5 separate regions of the Homo sapiens genome follow, and regions 2, 3, 4 and 5 are each linked to region 1. Evidence: promoter capture Hi-C in 16 types of primary human blood cells and fetal thymus (Javierre and others, 2016). All regions are on one chromosome and are shown on one strand. The core of a region is centred on a gene start or on the middle of the fragment in contact, and the rest is flanking DNA. Distances in the headings are between cores, read along the strand shown. Region 1 holds the start of RBM25 (RNA binding motif protein 25). Region 2 holds the start of ALKBH1 (alkB homolog 1, histone H2A dioxygenase). Region 3 holds the start of CIPC (CLOCK interacting pacemaker). Region 4 overlaps SRSF5 (serine and arginine rich splicing factor 5). Region 5 holds the start of ERH (ERH mRNA splicing and mitosis factor).

Region 1 (2,700 bases), core at 98-2,597:
CTCACTTTGTTGCCCAGGCTGGAGTGCAGTGGTGCCATCTCGGCTCACTGCAACCTCCGCCTCCAGGGTTCAAGCGATTCTCCTGCCTCAGCCTCCCGAGTAGCTGGGATTACAGGCGCCTGCCACCACGCCTAGTTTATTTTTGTATTTTCAGTAGAGACGGGGTTTTGCCATGTTGGCCAGGGTGGCCTCGAACTCCTAACCTCAGGTGATCCACCCGCCTCGGCCTCCCAAAGTGCTGGGGTTACAGGCGTGAGCCACCGCGCCCGGCCGGTAATCATTTCTGTCACTCAACAAATATTTATTGAGCGCTTGCTATGTACCAGGACCTGTTCTTGCACAAAACAGGCAATCCATGCATTGCTTACATTCACATTCTAGTGGGGGTAGTGACGGACCATAAAATCAGCAAGAAAAATGTATGTTATGATAGATGGTTATGAGTGCTTTAGAGTAAAATTAAGTAGGGGAGGCAGGCAGGAAGTGTGTAGTATGTTTCAATTTTATATTAGGCTGGTCATGGTTTGTCATCTATTTCACCTGGCTCACAGTTCTTGCAGGACAGGAACAAATCTCACTTCCATTTGCCTTCATACTTCCAGCACTTAACACAGCACCAGGAACTCAGGGAGGCAATAACTTTATACTGAATCCGTTTTATGCCTTCCTAGAGGCAAGCAGTTGAGAAAGGCGTGTAACTAGATATTGCCTATAAGGTCCACAATTGGAATAACGTAATCATTTATGATTAATTTTATTCATTTCCATTAACTTAAGCTAAGTTCTTTTAGCACGTTTAGATTACAGAACGAAAGCTGTGTTAACTAGTATTACAGGACTTTTCACGTTTTTCCAAACATCTTCTAGCCACCTCTTTGGCCCTACAACTACGCATAAGCTTTTGCTTTTCAAAAAACCTCCACAGCCTTTGCCAATTATTTGTTGATCTCGAGTAGTTGTTATAACAGCACTTGGGGTTTAACACTAAGGTTGCAGATCGCGCCCAGTTATCAGTTCCTCGAACCTCAAGGAATCACAAAGCAAGGTTCCACCCCCCGAAAAACTACGAAAAGTGAGAAAGCCTCTAACACTCCTCGCGCCGTGCCCAGCCGGAACCTTGACCTCAAGATGGCGTCCCGTAGTCGTAAGATTCAGTCGGCTCCAATCAAACATGGTGGGTCATAATTTACAGTTCGGGCCTTTCTAGTAACCGCTAGACGCTGCTTCTCTATGGTTATTCGTCTCGGCTTGGTGAGTCAGAGCCAACAGCGGAGACGATCTATATACGTTCTTCTCTATGGTTCCGCGCTCCCCGCCCCCGGCCGCAGTGCACGCCGGGCAAGAGGAAGACCTCCATCAGCTCGCCGCGCAGCGCGGCTGTATTTGCGGCCTGTGCGAGTAGGCGCTTGGGCACTCAGTCTCCCTGGCGAGCGACGGGCAGAAATCTCGAACCAGTGGAGCGCACTCGTAACCTGGATCCCAGAAGGTCGCGAAGGCAGTACCGTTTCCTCAGCGGCGGGTGAGTTTGTGTCTCTGAACGCGTGTGGAAACCGGGAGACCGGGTGCCTCAGCTGGTGGAGGAGGAAAAGCCGGGGTGGCTGCGAAAGCGCCAGGGTGGGGTAGAGGTAAGGGGGAGCGCGGAGGCGGGGGTGGGGGAGGGGTCGGCACGAGGCTTGGTTTCTTCTCTTCTCTAAGGCCTGGAAAAGCTGTGGGCCCAGCCGTAGCTGGTGGAGGCCAGACCTACGGCTTGAGCTTTCCGTCTTGCATTGTCGCCCACTTTCCCTTTCCCTTCCACGTTCCGCCGCGGAGTGAATCGTCTCTGCCCCCCCTGGGCTCCACGTTAGATACAAAACGATCGATCTGCCCCAGGGGAGCCCTTCCCTGAGCCCCCTTACTTACCGGAGCCCCACAGTAGGTTTTCGGGCCTGGGACACTCTCGCCCCAGCCGTTGCCTTGAAGTTAGCCTCTACCCACCCTTTTTAGCGAGGTGCTGGCCACCAACGGATATCTTTCCCTTCCTCTTTGGCCATCTAGAGCCCGCCACCAAGTGAACTGGGCCCCACCCCCTTGGAATTGAGCTAATACCTACCTTTTTAGCAGTCTCCTGGCTTGCTTAAGATAGTCATGAATTTTGCCATCCTGCCTCTTTTGCGCATTGGAGGGTGCAGTAAACTGTATATCGCCATTCATTCTAGGCGATTACTAAGCTCCACATTAAAATGTTACTTTCTCATTTTTCTTTGGTCGTCAATCCTGCTTTTAAATACGGTTTTCCGGAATAGACGTAGGACTATGAAGATTTTTCGGAGGTTATGTAATATGGATTTGTATTGCCATGGAAATGCCATTTTGATACTGGGCAGAGTGGAGCCAAGAGAAGGGAAGAGATTGGACCTCTGTTGCACCCTACTGCTGTATTAGTGTGAAGTACTCTGTGTATTAGGCCGTGGGCAGTAATGTATAAATAATTTTTGTATAGTCTTTGGAGCTTTTAATTTTTTTAAAGGCTATTTCCAAAAACATTCAGAGGACTTGAAAGGGATTAAGTTGGTCATAAGTTACTCATGATTCAAGTGAATCTTATAGTATTCTAATTCATTTAACTTAAAGCCTTGGTTTTTCTTTTTCTTTTTTCTTTTAAGCTTTGGTTTTTGTTCCTCTGTAAAATGAATTTATAGTAGTATCTATACGTTATTGGGG
Region 2 (2,700 bases), core at 70-2,569, 4.6 Mb after region 1:
GAGCTGAATGAGAGTCTGAAGCGCTCTGGAGAGAAAAAGTATATTATTATTGGGGTGTGGACTTTCTGTATTTTGACAACTCTAAGACCACTTTTTTTCCCTAACAAATGAAGGTGCTGAAAAGCTGAGCTCAAGTATGCAATCATTAACACTTAATACTGTAGCATCCCAATTTTATCAGAGCTGTTAGGAAGCTTGGAAAGAATGCCTCATCTAGACATCTGTGGACAACACCAAGAGCAAATTAAGGGACTGCATATCCTCAACGTTAAAGTGGATTGTAAAGAAAGAAAATATAAATTGGACTACAGTTTTGGTTCCCCGTTTTCCCTCTTGCCTGTTATGTTCCCTTAAAAAAATAATTTTTAAAAAATCTATTTACTTGAGAACAGGTTATGAGACTGGCTAATTTTTTGTATTTTTGGCGGAAACGGGGGTCTTGCCATGCCCCAGGCTGGTCTCGAACCCCTGGGTTCAAGCGATCCACCCGCCTCGGCCTCCGAAGTGCGGGATTACAGGCTTGAGCCACCGCTCCCGGACTGTGTTCCCCTTCTTAATCTCCATGGGGAAAAGCTGAGAGAGAGAACGGTGCCTGTATTCCATATATACTTGTTTGCCATTTATTTTCAACACGGAGGGATTCTCAGAATCCTTCAATGACCTCCTTCTAAAAGAGCCAGAGGAGAAGACAGGGACTAGTTTTACGCACAGTGGCTTAACAAACAGCGCCGCATCCCTGTCAGTTCTGGGATTCCTCGGGAGTGGTTTTTTTTAAGCTGCAGAAGTCTACCCTACCGTCTACAAAGACGTTCTATGGGGTTTTACAAAAACCCAAACAGAAATGTGAGGAGACAGTTACAGTAAGAAATAAACACGGATTCCCAGGCTCTTTTGACTGAGCGCCCCCGCCAGGAATGGCCGCCTAAAGAAACAGGCATCTCAACGCTTTATTGCTAAGTGTGACGGTTAGTGGGGAGTTCGACTCTGCAGCCAAAGGAGGTCAGGAATCGTTCAATAACAATCGGTCTGGAGGTGAAAAGAGGCGAAGAAGACACGTAAGTCCCTCCAAGACGCGGGGCAAAGCGATGGAGAGACGCGCGCCACTCCTCTCTCTGTACCTTTTGGGCACCAGGACCCTTGCCACGGGCTGCGTGGGCCGCCGAGAAGTCGATGACCCCTTCCAGGTCTGCGGTCCCGGGCCGGCTCTGACGGTAGAAGCGGAAAAGTTTCCGAAAGGCGTCCTCCCCGGGCTCAGTCGCCAGAGTCGCCACAGAGCCCACGGCCGCTGCCATCTTCCCCATCTCGCGGCCTATACCCTCTGATCCGGAAGCAGATTCTCTCGTGTTCCGGATCCGGAAATTTTTTCCGGGGCCGCGACCTCGGCTCGAGAAGGTGCTTTAGTCTGAAGATGGCGGCCTCAGCAGCGAGAGGTGCTGCGGCGCTGCGTAGAAGTATCAATCAGCCGGTTGCTTTTGTGAGAAGAATTCCTTGGACTGCGGCGTCGAGTGAGTGATGGAGATGTGGGAGTAGTGGAATTTTTAGGTCCAAGTGATCCTCAAAGCTTCTGCTTTTTGCAGGGTACTTAAGTCAGCGTGGTGGCTGAATTAGGAGACTGCTCCTGAGCATGCAAGTGAGCAGAAAGAAATTTTGTTTGCAGTTAACCGTTTAGGGATGTCCCTTGAGCTTTTGGGGTCACGAATGCACCGGCTCTTGCCTTTAGGAGTGATTTGGTGTAAAGATTTATTACTTGGTAACCAAGATTTACAATTTAGAAGGGATAATTTTGACTGTAGTGTGGAGGATGGATTCAAGGTGGCAAGATTGTAGGCGTGCAGAGGAGCTAAAAGGCAATTTCATTAATTTACTTAAAACGTGAGGACCTGAATTAGGGCGATGGTAGAAGGATGGTGGTCAGATGCATTAATGTTTTAAAAGCAAATTAGATGCCGTTTCGTGATGGCTTAAGTGGGAGAAGTGTACGGAATAAAGGAAAGGGAGAAATGATTTCTGGGTTTTTAGCATTGGTGAATTGTTTGTTTAGAAGTTAGGAGCAGGCCAAGAGAAGATGAGTAAAGTTTGAATGTGTTGACTTTGAGAAACTTGTGAGGTTTCCGTCAGGCAATTGGACAAAGGTTGTATATCATTGTGGCTGAGAAGTGGACTCCGAAGCTAGACCGTTGGGGTTAGAATTCCAACTTGGCCATTTAATCGTTGTTATCACTTGAATAACTGAAGTTAGTATGGGAAAAGGGCTCACAACTGGGCCTCAGTTTACTCATCGATAAAATGGAGTCAATAATACCCAACTCATAGGATTGTTGAGAGGATTGAGTTTATATGCAAACTTCTTAGACTTGTGTTAGATACAGTGTAAGTACTCAGCAAATGATAGTTATTTTCACGGTAACTAAAATTGAAACTTACGGGAGAGGCCTAGTCTACAGATAAAGGTTGGAATAATTAGTTCTGAAATCTTTCACCACCTTCAATTTTTGTCAGCTGCAGTTTTGAGATGAGGTTTTTATATTTGCTTACCAACATGTAAACATTCGTGGTCACTCTTTTTGTAGATATTCATGTTTCAGGTCAACCCCTGGAAACAAAATGGAGCAAGATTTAGTTTCTTCTAAGTTTTTAGTGGCTCAGATGTGAGTAGTAGAATGGGAAATAGGTTGGTTTGTGCCCCGTGTTTTAAACATG
Region 3 (2,700 bases), core at 115-2,614, 4.0 Mb after region 1:
CACACAACTGGAAAAAAATACCACCTGCGTCATAAACTTGTAAGGAATCATAAAAGGATGCATATAAAGCGGCCCGGCTCCTAATTACTTGGTAATTGTTAACTATTGCTTTCACTCTGTCCCCAAAACAAAAGCCTTACATGGTGTAGGCATATTACTTGTTGGTAAAGCTGACTACTAACAAGTACACCCATACCCAGTAATACATTAGAATTACCTGTGTCTAGAGGACTAACGTGATTAACCACGACCTAGCAGCACTTACAAAGGCCTGGATGACCAGTATAAAACAATTCCCCACTATCTAAATCAGCACTGTCCAATATAACTTTCTGCGATGCTGGGAATGGGCTATATATAATCTGCACTGTCCAATAAAGAGGTCACTGAGCTCCTGAAATGTGGCTAGTACAACTGAGAAACTTATCCAGTCGTTAGTGACCATCTTACTGGACAGCTCAGCTCTTGAATCTGCCTCGACCCGTCAACTCTTTAAACTCGCCCATGTCCTCTTTTTCACTAGCGAAATAATTCTTTTTCTAAGTAACCTTCACTGATTCAAGGCATCAGAACGTCAACTGATCCCAAGCCCTTTTTTTCTTTAGCTGTTACACACGTGTGTTCACCGTGAACCTTCACCAAGAAACAGCATCCATATAAAACCCATAGCACATGACAAAGTCAGTCAAACATCAAAGGTCATGAAATCATCTACTTAAAATAACTCATCGCGCCTCGACCTCGTGAAGCACGGTCTCGAGGGTGGACGGGAACAAAAAACAAACAGGGCGACAGGCGTAGAGAAAATGCGAGGAGCACGCGGGGAGGTCTGGCACCCCTGTCACGGCGACTCCAGGCTGAGGCCGCCCGCACGCCCGCTCTCCCACGCCGGGCACTGTCGCTCCCGGCACGCGCACAGGCCGGACACGACTCGCCCCGGCCCCCACCCCCAACGGCGGCACGGCGGCACGGCGGCACGCACCAAGACAGTGCGAGAGTCGCTCCTCTCTCTGTATCGACTCCAAGCCGGCCCCACCCCCGGCTCCTCTGAACCCCGCCTGGAAACCTTGCCCAAGCCGCTCATTGCTCAAGGCCCCCGTACAAAATGGCGGCGAGGCCTGAGGAACCAACCATAGAGACGCCCGCCGGCCGCGGACAGAGCGTAGGCCTCTGAGCGCTGGCCCCGCCCCGCGCCGGCCTGGTCTTCCGGCGGGGGCGGGGAAAGGGCGCATTTCCAAGGGCCCTTCTAGGAGAACAGCGTGCGGTCTCCATGGTGCCGGGTCATCCGAGTCGGGTCACGTGGCTGGCGAAAGCCGTCGCGGAGGCGTGGGGAGGAGAAATGGGCGGGAGGCTGTGGGGATAGCGAGACACCCAGCGACGACGAGGTTGTCATGGTGCCGCGGGGCCGTGCTCGCGCATGCGCCACCTGACCCACAGGCCGGTCGTGGAGCTGCGACCCCGGCCCTAGGTGAGAAAGGGAGGGCTCGGTCCGGGAGGAGGGGAGCAGGGATGACGGCGGGAGAGGGATTGGGCGAGGAGCGTGGGGAAAGGAGGTGGAAGTAGGGGAGAGAGGAAGAGGAGCGAGTAGGCAAGAGGGGCAAACCGGGACTTTCGGAGGACGGAGAGCCAAATGGTGGGAGCAGGGCTTTGGTTTGCTGTGAGGGGCGTGGGAGAGGGAATCGCGGGTGAGGAGGGGGCTGCGTGTGGGGAGGAGGCTTGTGTGAGGGGCAGGTGGGCCCTGGTCTAGCCCTGGGCGCAACCGCCAGCCGGCTGGGCGGGGAGAGAGCTTGGAGTCCAGCCCGGCTGGGAGCTGAGGGCCAAGCAATGGGCAGGTGAGTGGGCGCCAGAACTAGTAACTGGGCGAGGGTCCTGGGCTTCCGGTTTGAGGTCGGGGGTGGTACCCTGTTCTGGCTCCAGGGCACAGGTGTGCTGCCTTTTCCAGAGACCTGCCGTCACCCTCGTTGCTGGTTGTTTCCCCTGAGTGGCCAGCTTGCCAGGCTTGGTGTCGGGGGTAGTGTTTCTGGGGAGAAGGTGGGCAGTGCCAAGTAAGGAGTTAAGTGGTTAGTGGGTGGGTTCGGGGGAGCTCTGATCCCGGCCCAGGTCACAGGCTGGAGCTAGGCTCCCTGTTATTGCTCAAGTCCTGGCAGTATGCATTGCCTGGGCGTTTGCCCTGGAAGGCTGGTGGTATGCCAGTCACAGCACAGTACTAGGGTCTGCCCAGTTTTGCCCTGCTGAGCTGGCAGGCTGGTGGATGCCTGGAGGGTGCACATGCTGCCTGGCACAGATGCAACGTGGGCTGGTGCGAATGGGTAGGTGGGCACTGTTACTGTGAACTAATTGCAGCAGGGGATCGGAGAAAGTTCTCTAAGCTCATCTCCCCTTTGAAAGGTGAAAATAGAGCCAAACTGGTCTAAAACATAGGAAATTGTATGGAATTGGGGTTCAGGATCTTTGACACGAATTTTCAGCCAAGTTGGAGAAATGGAATGAATGTGGAAGGGAAGATGAATATTAGACATTTAGGTAGACAGGGTTTTTCCACTGTTAAGATACCCAGACATTCTCCCAGAATGGTATCCCTGAATATGCAGGCCAAAAGAAAATGACTTCGGAGAAAAGCTAGTAATGTATTTATAATTCTAACGGGGATTACTCAAGGTTTTCTTTCTGTGACCTTATCACTTTATTGTATTTAAGCCT
Region 4 (2,700 bases), core at 104-2,603, 3.3 Mb before region 1:
GATTCCACCGCCGCCATTTTGTGGCCGCAGAGCGCCCGCCCGCTGCTGTTGGCGCAGGCGCGGTCGAGGCGTCGCGAGATTCTGGCTTCCACCCGCTGTGACGCGCCCGCGAGGCCGCCATTGGGCTGGCTTTGCGGAGGGCGCGGGCGGCTCCGCCCGCACTTCTCGGCCTTTCCTAACTGCGGCAGATGGGAGGGGGCCGGAGAGCCCGGAGAGTGTGCGGCTGCGCAGTTGGAAAGGTGGCAGTGGGCGTTGCGGTTGCTGCGGTCTGGGCCCAGTAGCGGACCGTGTTGGGAGGGAGCTGGGTTTTCATTTTGTCTGCAGGTAACCTGGCCTCATTAGAGGCTCTGTTGGCAATCTCGTTCATAACATCACTGTGTAAACATTTTATGCCGTTGATGTTTTTGATTGTTTAATCAGGCGTTTCTCTGTGACAGTCATTGCTATTATCTCGATTGAATTACTTTCTAATAGGAAGTACTAGCCGGACATCATGAGTGGCTGTCGGGTATTCATCGGGAGACTAAATCCAGCGGCCAGGGAGAAGGACGTGGAAAGATTCTTCAAGGGATATGGACGGATAAGAGATATTGATCTGAAAAGAGGCTTTGGTTTTGTGGTAAGTATTTAGAACTGGGTGAATTATCTGCTAAGTAGGTAGAGTTTTGATAAGCAGTTGTTTTCGATCTTGAGTCCGGGTGGAATATTTGCCTTCAGAAAATGTTACCCAGCCTTATGTCTGAATTTTATTGAGGCTGAAAACAACTTTAACTTGCCGGCTCACTGGAACCCCACTCCCAGTGGCTCCTTGATTAGGTTTGACTGTATGGCAGTGTCGTTAAGATACTCTTCCCATTCTGTCTCCTGATTTCAGTGCTCTTAATGTGTTGTAGAATACTCTTCTAAAGCCAATGTTAAGAGTCTTATGCTTACATTTTAGGAATTTGAGGATCCAAGGGATGCAGATGATGCTGTGTATGAGCTTGATGGAAAAGAACTCTGTAGTGAAAGGTGAGATTCCTGTGTAACTAGATAACCCTGGGACATAGAGCAGACTGGGTCTGCTGGCATATTTTTCTAAGTAGATTTATGTAGCTTAAGTGTGTAACGGAGATTTTTCTTCCCTTTTTGTAGGGTTACTATTGAACATGCTAGGGCTCGGTCACGAGGTGGAAGAGGTAGAGGACGATACTCTGACCGTTTTAGTAGTCGCAGACCTCGAAATGATAGACGGTATGTGAAGGGTGGATGGCTGCATTGAACAATTATTGTAGGGGTAGCATTTAAGATTCAGGAGTCATTAGCAGTGATGATTTTGGGTCCTGCCGTATAATCTGTTCTTCTATTCCCACGTTAGCCAGTTGTTCTTGATGAATCTATATGAGTCATAGAACACAAATCTATTGACGGAAGTCATTAGAATGGCTTGTGATATCTGATGGCTTGAACTTGCCCACAGTTGAACACAAGTGCTGTCATTGCATTTCTTCCATTGTGAATACGAATTTTCTTCCTCAGAAATGCTCCACCTGTAAGAACAGAAAATCGTCTTATAGTTGAGAATTTATCCTCAAGAGTCAGCTGGCAGGTTTGTTGAAATACAGTTTTGAGTTATTTTGATGTGGCTTTTTAAAAAAGTTAATGGGTAGCTAATGTTGTATTGTTTTATTAAAAGTAGTTTTAAATTAATGGATTTAATGGAATTGTAATTTTAAACATTTAATTAAATGTAATTTGGGGGATATTTTGAACTTTAATATTAGTGATCAAATGTAAATGTTTTGAGGATATTTTTCTTGTTTTTTAAAATCAATTTTTAACCAAATATTAAACCCTTTATTTGCCAGCCTGTCTGTGTCGTTGGCCTTATGACGAGGAGTGCCTGTGGGTTATCCTAATCGTTGTCTTGGTCACTCTTGGTTGGGCCTGGTTGACTTTGCCAGTCAGCTCCTACAGTGATCAGTTGGCCACCTCTAGATCTGTGTTTGCCGGTCTAGACGTTATCGGTGCACTTCCTTGAAGTGCCAGGTTGCAGCGATCCCAGAGCGTTGATAACGTGATCTGATCCCTAAGTTGAGACCTGTCTTCCTGTAACGCTTCCGAATAAGAGGTCCGGTCGAAAAGAGTTGAAAGATACGAAATTAGGTGGTCGTTGGAATCCTGATCGCAGTAAAGTGGTCCTTGGTAACTGCTCGAGTAGAACATGTCTGCATCCGCCAATAGTCCGCTAATAGGGAGGGCTGTGCGATTAAAGGCTTCCATCGATTGGGTAGTGTCCTTCAAGTGGGTGGCGAAGAGCCAGTCGGGCATATGTCATGAAGGTTTCTCCGACCGATTAATGGTTTGCTGCTTGACTAGCCTAGGGAAATAATAATAAAGGTAAAGTAAACTTTTTTAATGACATATGGGGCACAAAATAACTGGTGTCTTGTAAATGTTCTGTTTTTTTAAATAAAACTTCTCTACTTTAGTCTTTACTTTAAAAATATGTACTGTTTCCTTTTTTGTTGTTTTTTTGTTTGTTTTTTTTTCTTTTGTACTGAGCTCAGCATAGACTAATACTACCTTAATGTTAAAATCTGAATTTCTTTTAGCATTTTGCTTAAAAGCAATATGCTATTTGCTTATTCCGTGCCCTGACATAGATAATTTTTGAATTCTGATAGAATACAAGTGTGGTAAATGCCATGTTTGTACTTT
Region 5 (2,700 bases), core at 39-2,538, 3.7 Mb before region 1:
TTCTAATGCAAATTAAAGGACTAATTTGAAAGGGTAAGAATGGAAAAAGCTATACAGCATGTTGCTTTTTATATCTAGTCTTAAAATGAACACCGGGCAAAGTTTACTATTTTCAGTACTTACTGCCCAAAGACAAGGATTAAAAATCACTAAGAACATAACATGATACATTTTAAAAACTGTGGTCAAGTGGTTATCATTTTTAAATGGCAATGCTTTCCTGCTCAAATTCTTTACAGATTATACCACCTCTCAAGCCAGTTTTGGTCACTTTCTTCGAATTGGAGCTTACTGATCATCCCGGTTGGGTTCTAATAGAGCTGGTCTCTGAGCTGAGCCTACTTTTCAGCCTCCAGCCCCAAGAGGATATAAATACAGATAAGTACAGGATCGAGGGCTGAGGGACGCGCCACACGCAATACCTAGAGGTCTCAAAAACAGGAAAAAAAAAAAAAAGGCAGAGCACAGGAAAACGAAAGCTGAAAAAACACTGCAAAGCAAATACGTCCTCTCCTGGCCCACATGCTGGGTATAGCTGGATCTGTCAGCTTCGAGAATAGTTAGACAACCCTGGCCCATTGTTCCTACAGCAGGCTAGAGCATTTGGAGGGAAAAATACCATATCCGGCAGGGCCCGGTGGCTCACGCCTGTAATCCCAGCACTTTGGGATGCCGAGGCGGGTGGATTGCTTGAGGTCAGGAGTTCGAGACCAGCCTGGCCAACATGGTGAAACGCCGTCTCTGCTAAAATAAAAAAATTAGCCGAGCGAGGTGGCGGGCGCCTGTAATCCCAGCTACTAGGGAGGCTGAGACAGGAGAATTGCTTCAACCCAGGAGGCAGAGGTTGCAGGGGTCTGAGATCCCGCCACTGCACTCCAGCCTGGGCGATAGAGTGAGACTCTCTATCTCAAAAAACAAAACACCTCCCCCACGTCTCCCTCTACCGAGTAACAATCGGGAGAGAGTTCATCCTCAGGCCCAAGGCACGCCGGACCCGAGCGAGCAGGCGGGCGCGCAACCGCAGGGCGGACCGGGGCTCCGAGGCCTAGAGTCAGGCCTGGCGTCCCTGCGGCGGGAAGAAGGGTCAATCCACCGACTAGAGTGGCGGGGAGCATCACGCGGCGCTGCATGGGGCTCGTGGGGAGGGGAAAACGTATGGGGCTGGGGTCGCTCTGGAGGCCGGGGACTCGGACTCGGGTAGCCGCGGAGGCCTTTCTCACCATCGCGCCAAACTCTCTTCGCTACAGCAGCTGCCGACACCGCCGCCGTTACACGAGCTTAACTACAACGCCGCTAACAGCCAATCCTCGCGAGAGGAGCCGCCGGAAGTCGTCGAAAGTGCAACGCAAAAGAGCCTTTTGGATCATAGAGGCACAGTCACTTCCGGCAGCTAGAGCAGCTACTGACTCTGTTTCAGCCATCTTCGATAAAGGCAAAAAGGTAAGGGAAAGTTTCCAAGCTTTAGGAAGAATTATTTTTTTTCAAGACGCTGTCTTCCGTACTTTCGTTATTAAACATACGGCTCAAGTGATCACCGGTATAGACAGTGACATCAGACATCTTTCATTAGCCCTACTCAAAAATGGCGGCAACGTAAGTATCCTGGGCCGGAGGTCGGTTGTAACCCGGAAGTGCCTTTGTAAAGGAGGGGGTGGTTAGACAATCCGGAAGTGGATGGAATGAAGAGATGCCACTTGGCGGCCATGGCAGCTGTAGTATCGGCGACTCCGGGTCAAGGCCCGGTCGAGTGCAGTACCATGGGCAGCACCGGGTATAGGGCAGAGACAGCTTTGTGTCAACTTTGCTGCTGAACCCCTAGGACCCATCGTTAGAGACCTGCAGGACTCCTTTCCTCATCCCAGGCTCGGAGGAGAGTTTGCTGGGACTGGTGGGCTGGTTTCCTGCTCTGGGGGGCGGATCACCTTCGGGGCCGCCTCTTGGAGACAGGGGCGCCTAGGGAACGAACAGGTTCGCTTGAGTCACTTACCCGCCGCCGCCTAAGACATTGTGCCACCCTCAATCCGACAATCGAAGAAATCGATCATTCGCACATTTTCCCCATTGACTTTTCCCATCTCTGTTAACCCACGAGAATCTAATGACTGGCATCTGAGAACCCAGAGCCTGGGACCTTAGATTGCTGTAAGCTTTCTCTGGTGCTAATATCAGCAAAAAGGGTCTGTTGCCGGGTACGTTCAAGAGGAAGGTGCCTCGTGAACACATCTGCTGGTGGGAAGGCCTAAAGAACTGGAAAGCCCACTCTCTTGGAACCACCACACCTGTTTAAAGAACCTAAGCACCATTTAAAGCCACTGGAAATTTGTTGTCTAGTGGTTGTGGGTGAATAAAGGAGGGCAGAATGGATGATTTCATCTCCATTAGCCTGCTGTCTCTGGCTATGTTGGTGGGATGTTACGTGGCCGGAATCATTCCCTTGGCTGTTAATTTCTCAGAGGTAAGAAATTCTCAATTTTCTGTCAGCTGTCAGGATGGCTGTGAGATAGTAGTTTTAGTTGCAAAGGGAAGCTGCTTCCCTAGTTAAATCTCAAAGCTGAAGGTCTCATTAAGAAAGACTATCTTTTTTAAAAGATACATGACACTTAATAATAGAAAGAAACCTCATATTCATTAGTGGAATTCTTAACCTGGGGTGGATAGATATTCCACGGAAGATCCTGGAGTATTCTGAATCCCCTAGAA

What was found. The method cuts DNA at HindIII sites, captures the fragments that hold promoters and counts their contacts. A CHiCAGO score of 5 or more calls a contact.
Region 2: the fragment with the promoter of ALKBH1 here is called in contact with the fragment with the promoter of RBM25 in region 1 in 1 of 17 cell types (non-activated CD4 T cells); the score reaches 5.1 in non-activated CD4 T cells.
Region 3: a contact is called between the fragment with the promoter of CIPC here and the fragment with the promoter of RBM25 in region 1, in 2 of 17 cell types (non-activated CD4 T cells and total CD4 T cells). The highest score is 7.4, in non-activated CD4 T cells.
Region 4: a fragment that was not itself captured here is called in contact with the fragment with the promoter of RBM25 in region 1 in 1 of 17 cell types (naive CD4 T cells); the score reaches 6.0 in naive CD4 T cells.
Region 5: the fragment with the promoter of ERH here is called in contact with the fragment with the promoter of RBM25 in region 1 in 3 of 17 cell types (naive CD4 T cells, non-activated CD4 T cells and total CD8 T cells); the score reaches 12.6 in naive CD4 T cells.

What each region holds. Positions count from the first base shown.
Region 1 is chr14:73,057,187-73,059,886 of GRCh38, forward strand. It overlaps RBM25 (RNA binding motif protein 25), which reads left to right and starts at 1,348. Exons shown (of 19, transcript NM_021239.3): 1 at 1,348-1,519. RBM25-AS1 (RBM25 antisense RNA 1) reads right to left here and starts at 2,267. Exons shown (of 2, transcript NR_184256.1): 1 at 2,090-2,267; 2 at 1-1,571. RefSeq lists enhancers at 625-1,589, 661-1,860, 913-1,452. The HindIII fragment of the contact is 1,744 bases long and covers 897-2,640 here.
Region 2 is chr14:77,706,704-77,709,403 of GRCh38, forward strand. ALKBH1 (alkB homolog 1, histone H2A dioxygenase) reads right to left here and starts at 1,320. Exons shown (of 6, transcript NM_006020.3): 1 at 1,119-1,320. The coding sequence starts at 1,301. SLIRP (SRA stem-loop interacting RNA binding protein) reads left to right here and starts at 1,400. Exons shown (of 4, transcript NM_031210.6): 1 at 1,400-1,505. The coding sequence starts at 1,409. RefSeq lists an enhancer at 954-1,283. The HindIII fragment of the contact is 1,367 bases long and covers 193-1,559 here.
Region 3 is chr14:77,096,894-77,099,593 of GRCh38, forward strand. It overlaps CIPC (CLOCK interacting pacemaker), which reads left to right and starts at 1,365. Exons shown (of 4, transcript NM_033426.3): 1 at 1,365-1,468. It overlaps LOC124903350 (a long non-coding RNA gene), which reads right to left and starts at 1,125. Exons shown (of 2, transcript XR_007064275.1): 1 at 983-1,125; 2 at 1-7. RefSeq lists enhancers at 596-645, 1,007-1,836, 1,976-2,135 and a silencer at 826-975. The HindIII fragment of the contact is 10,027 bases long and covers 1-2,700 here.
Region 4 is chr14:69,767,664-69,770,363 of GRCh38, forward strand. It overlaps SRSF5 (serine and arginine rich splicing factor 5), which reads left to right. Exons shown (of 8, transcript NM_001320214.2): 2 at 475-619; 3 at 941-1,011; 4 at 1,135-1,233; 5 at 1,519-1,588. The coding sequence starts at 494. It overlaps LOC100289511 (a long non-coding RNA gene), which reads right to left and starts at 50. Exons shown (of 1, transcript NR_029378.1): 1 at 1-50. RefSeq lists enhancers at 1-359, 356-405. The HindIII fragment of the contact is 6,506 bases long and covers 1-2,700 here.
Region 5 is chr14:69,397,011-69,399,710 of GRCh38, forward strand. It overlaps ERH (ERH mRNA splicing and mitosis factor), which reads right to left and starts at 1,289. Exons shown (of 4, transcript NM_004450.3): 1 at 1,221-1,289. The coding sequence starts at 1,223. SLC39A9 (solute carrier family 39 member 9) reads left to right here and starts at 1,682. Exons shown (of 7, transcript NM_018375.5): 1 at 1,682-2,455. The coding sequence starts at 2,360. RefSeq lists enhancers at 289-797, 798-1,305, 1,507-2,700, 1,635-1,974 and a silencer at 1,298-1,538. The HindIII fragment of the contact is 2,829 bases long and covers 1-1,457 here.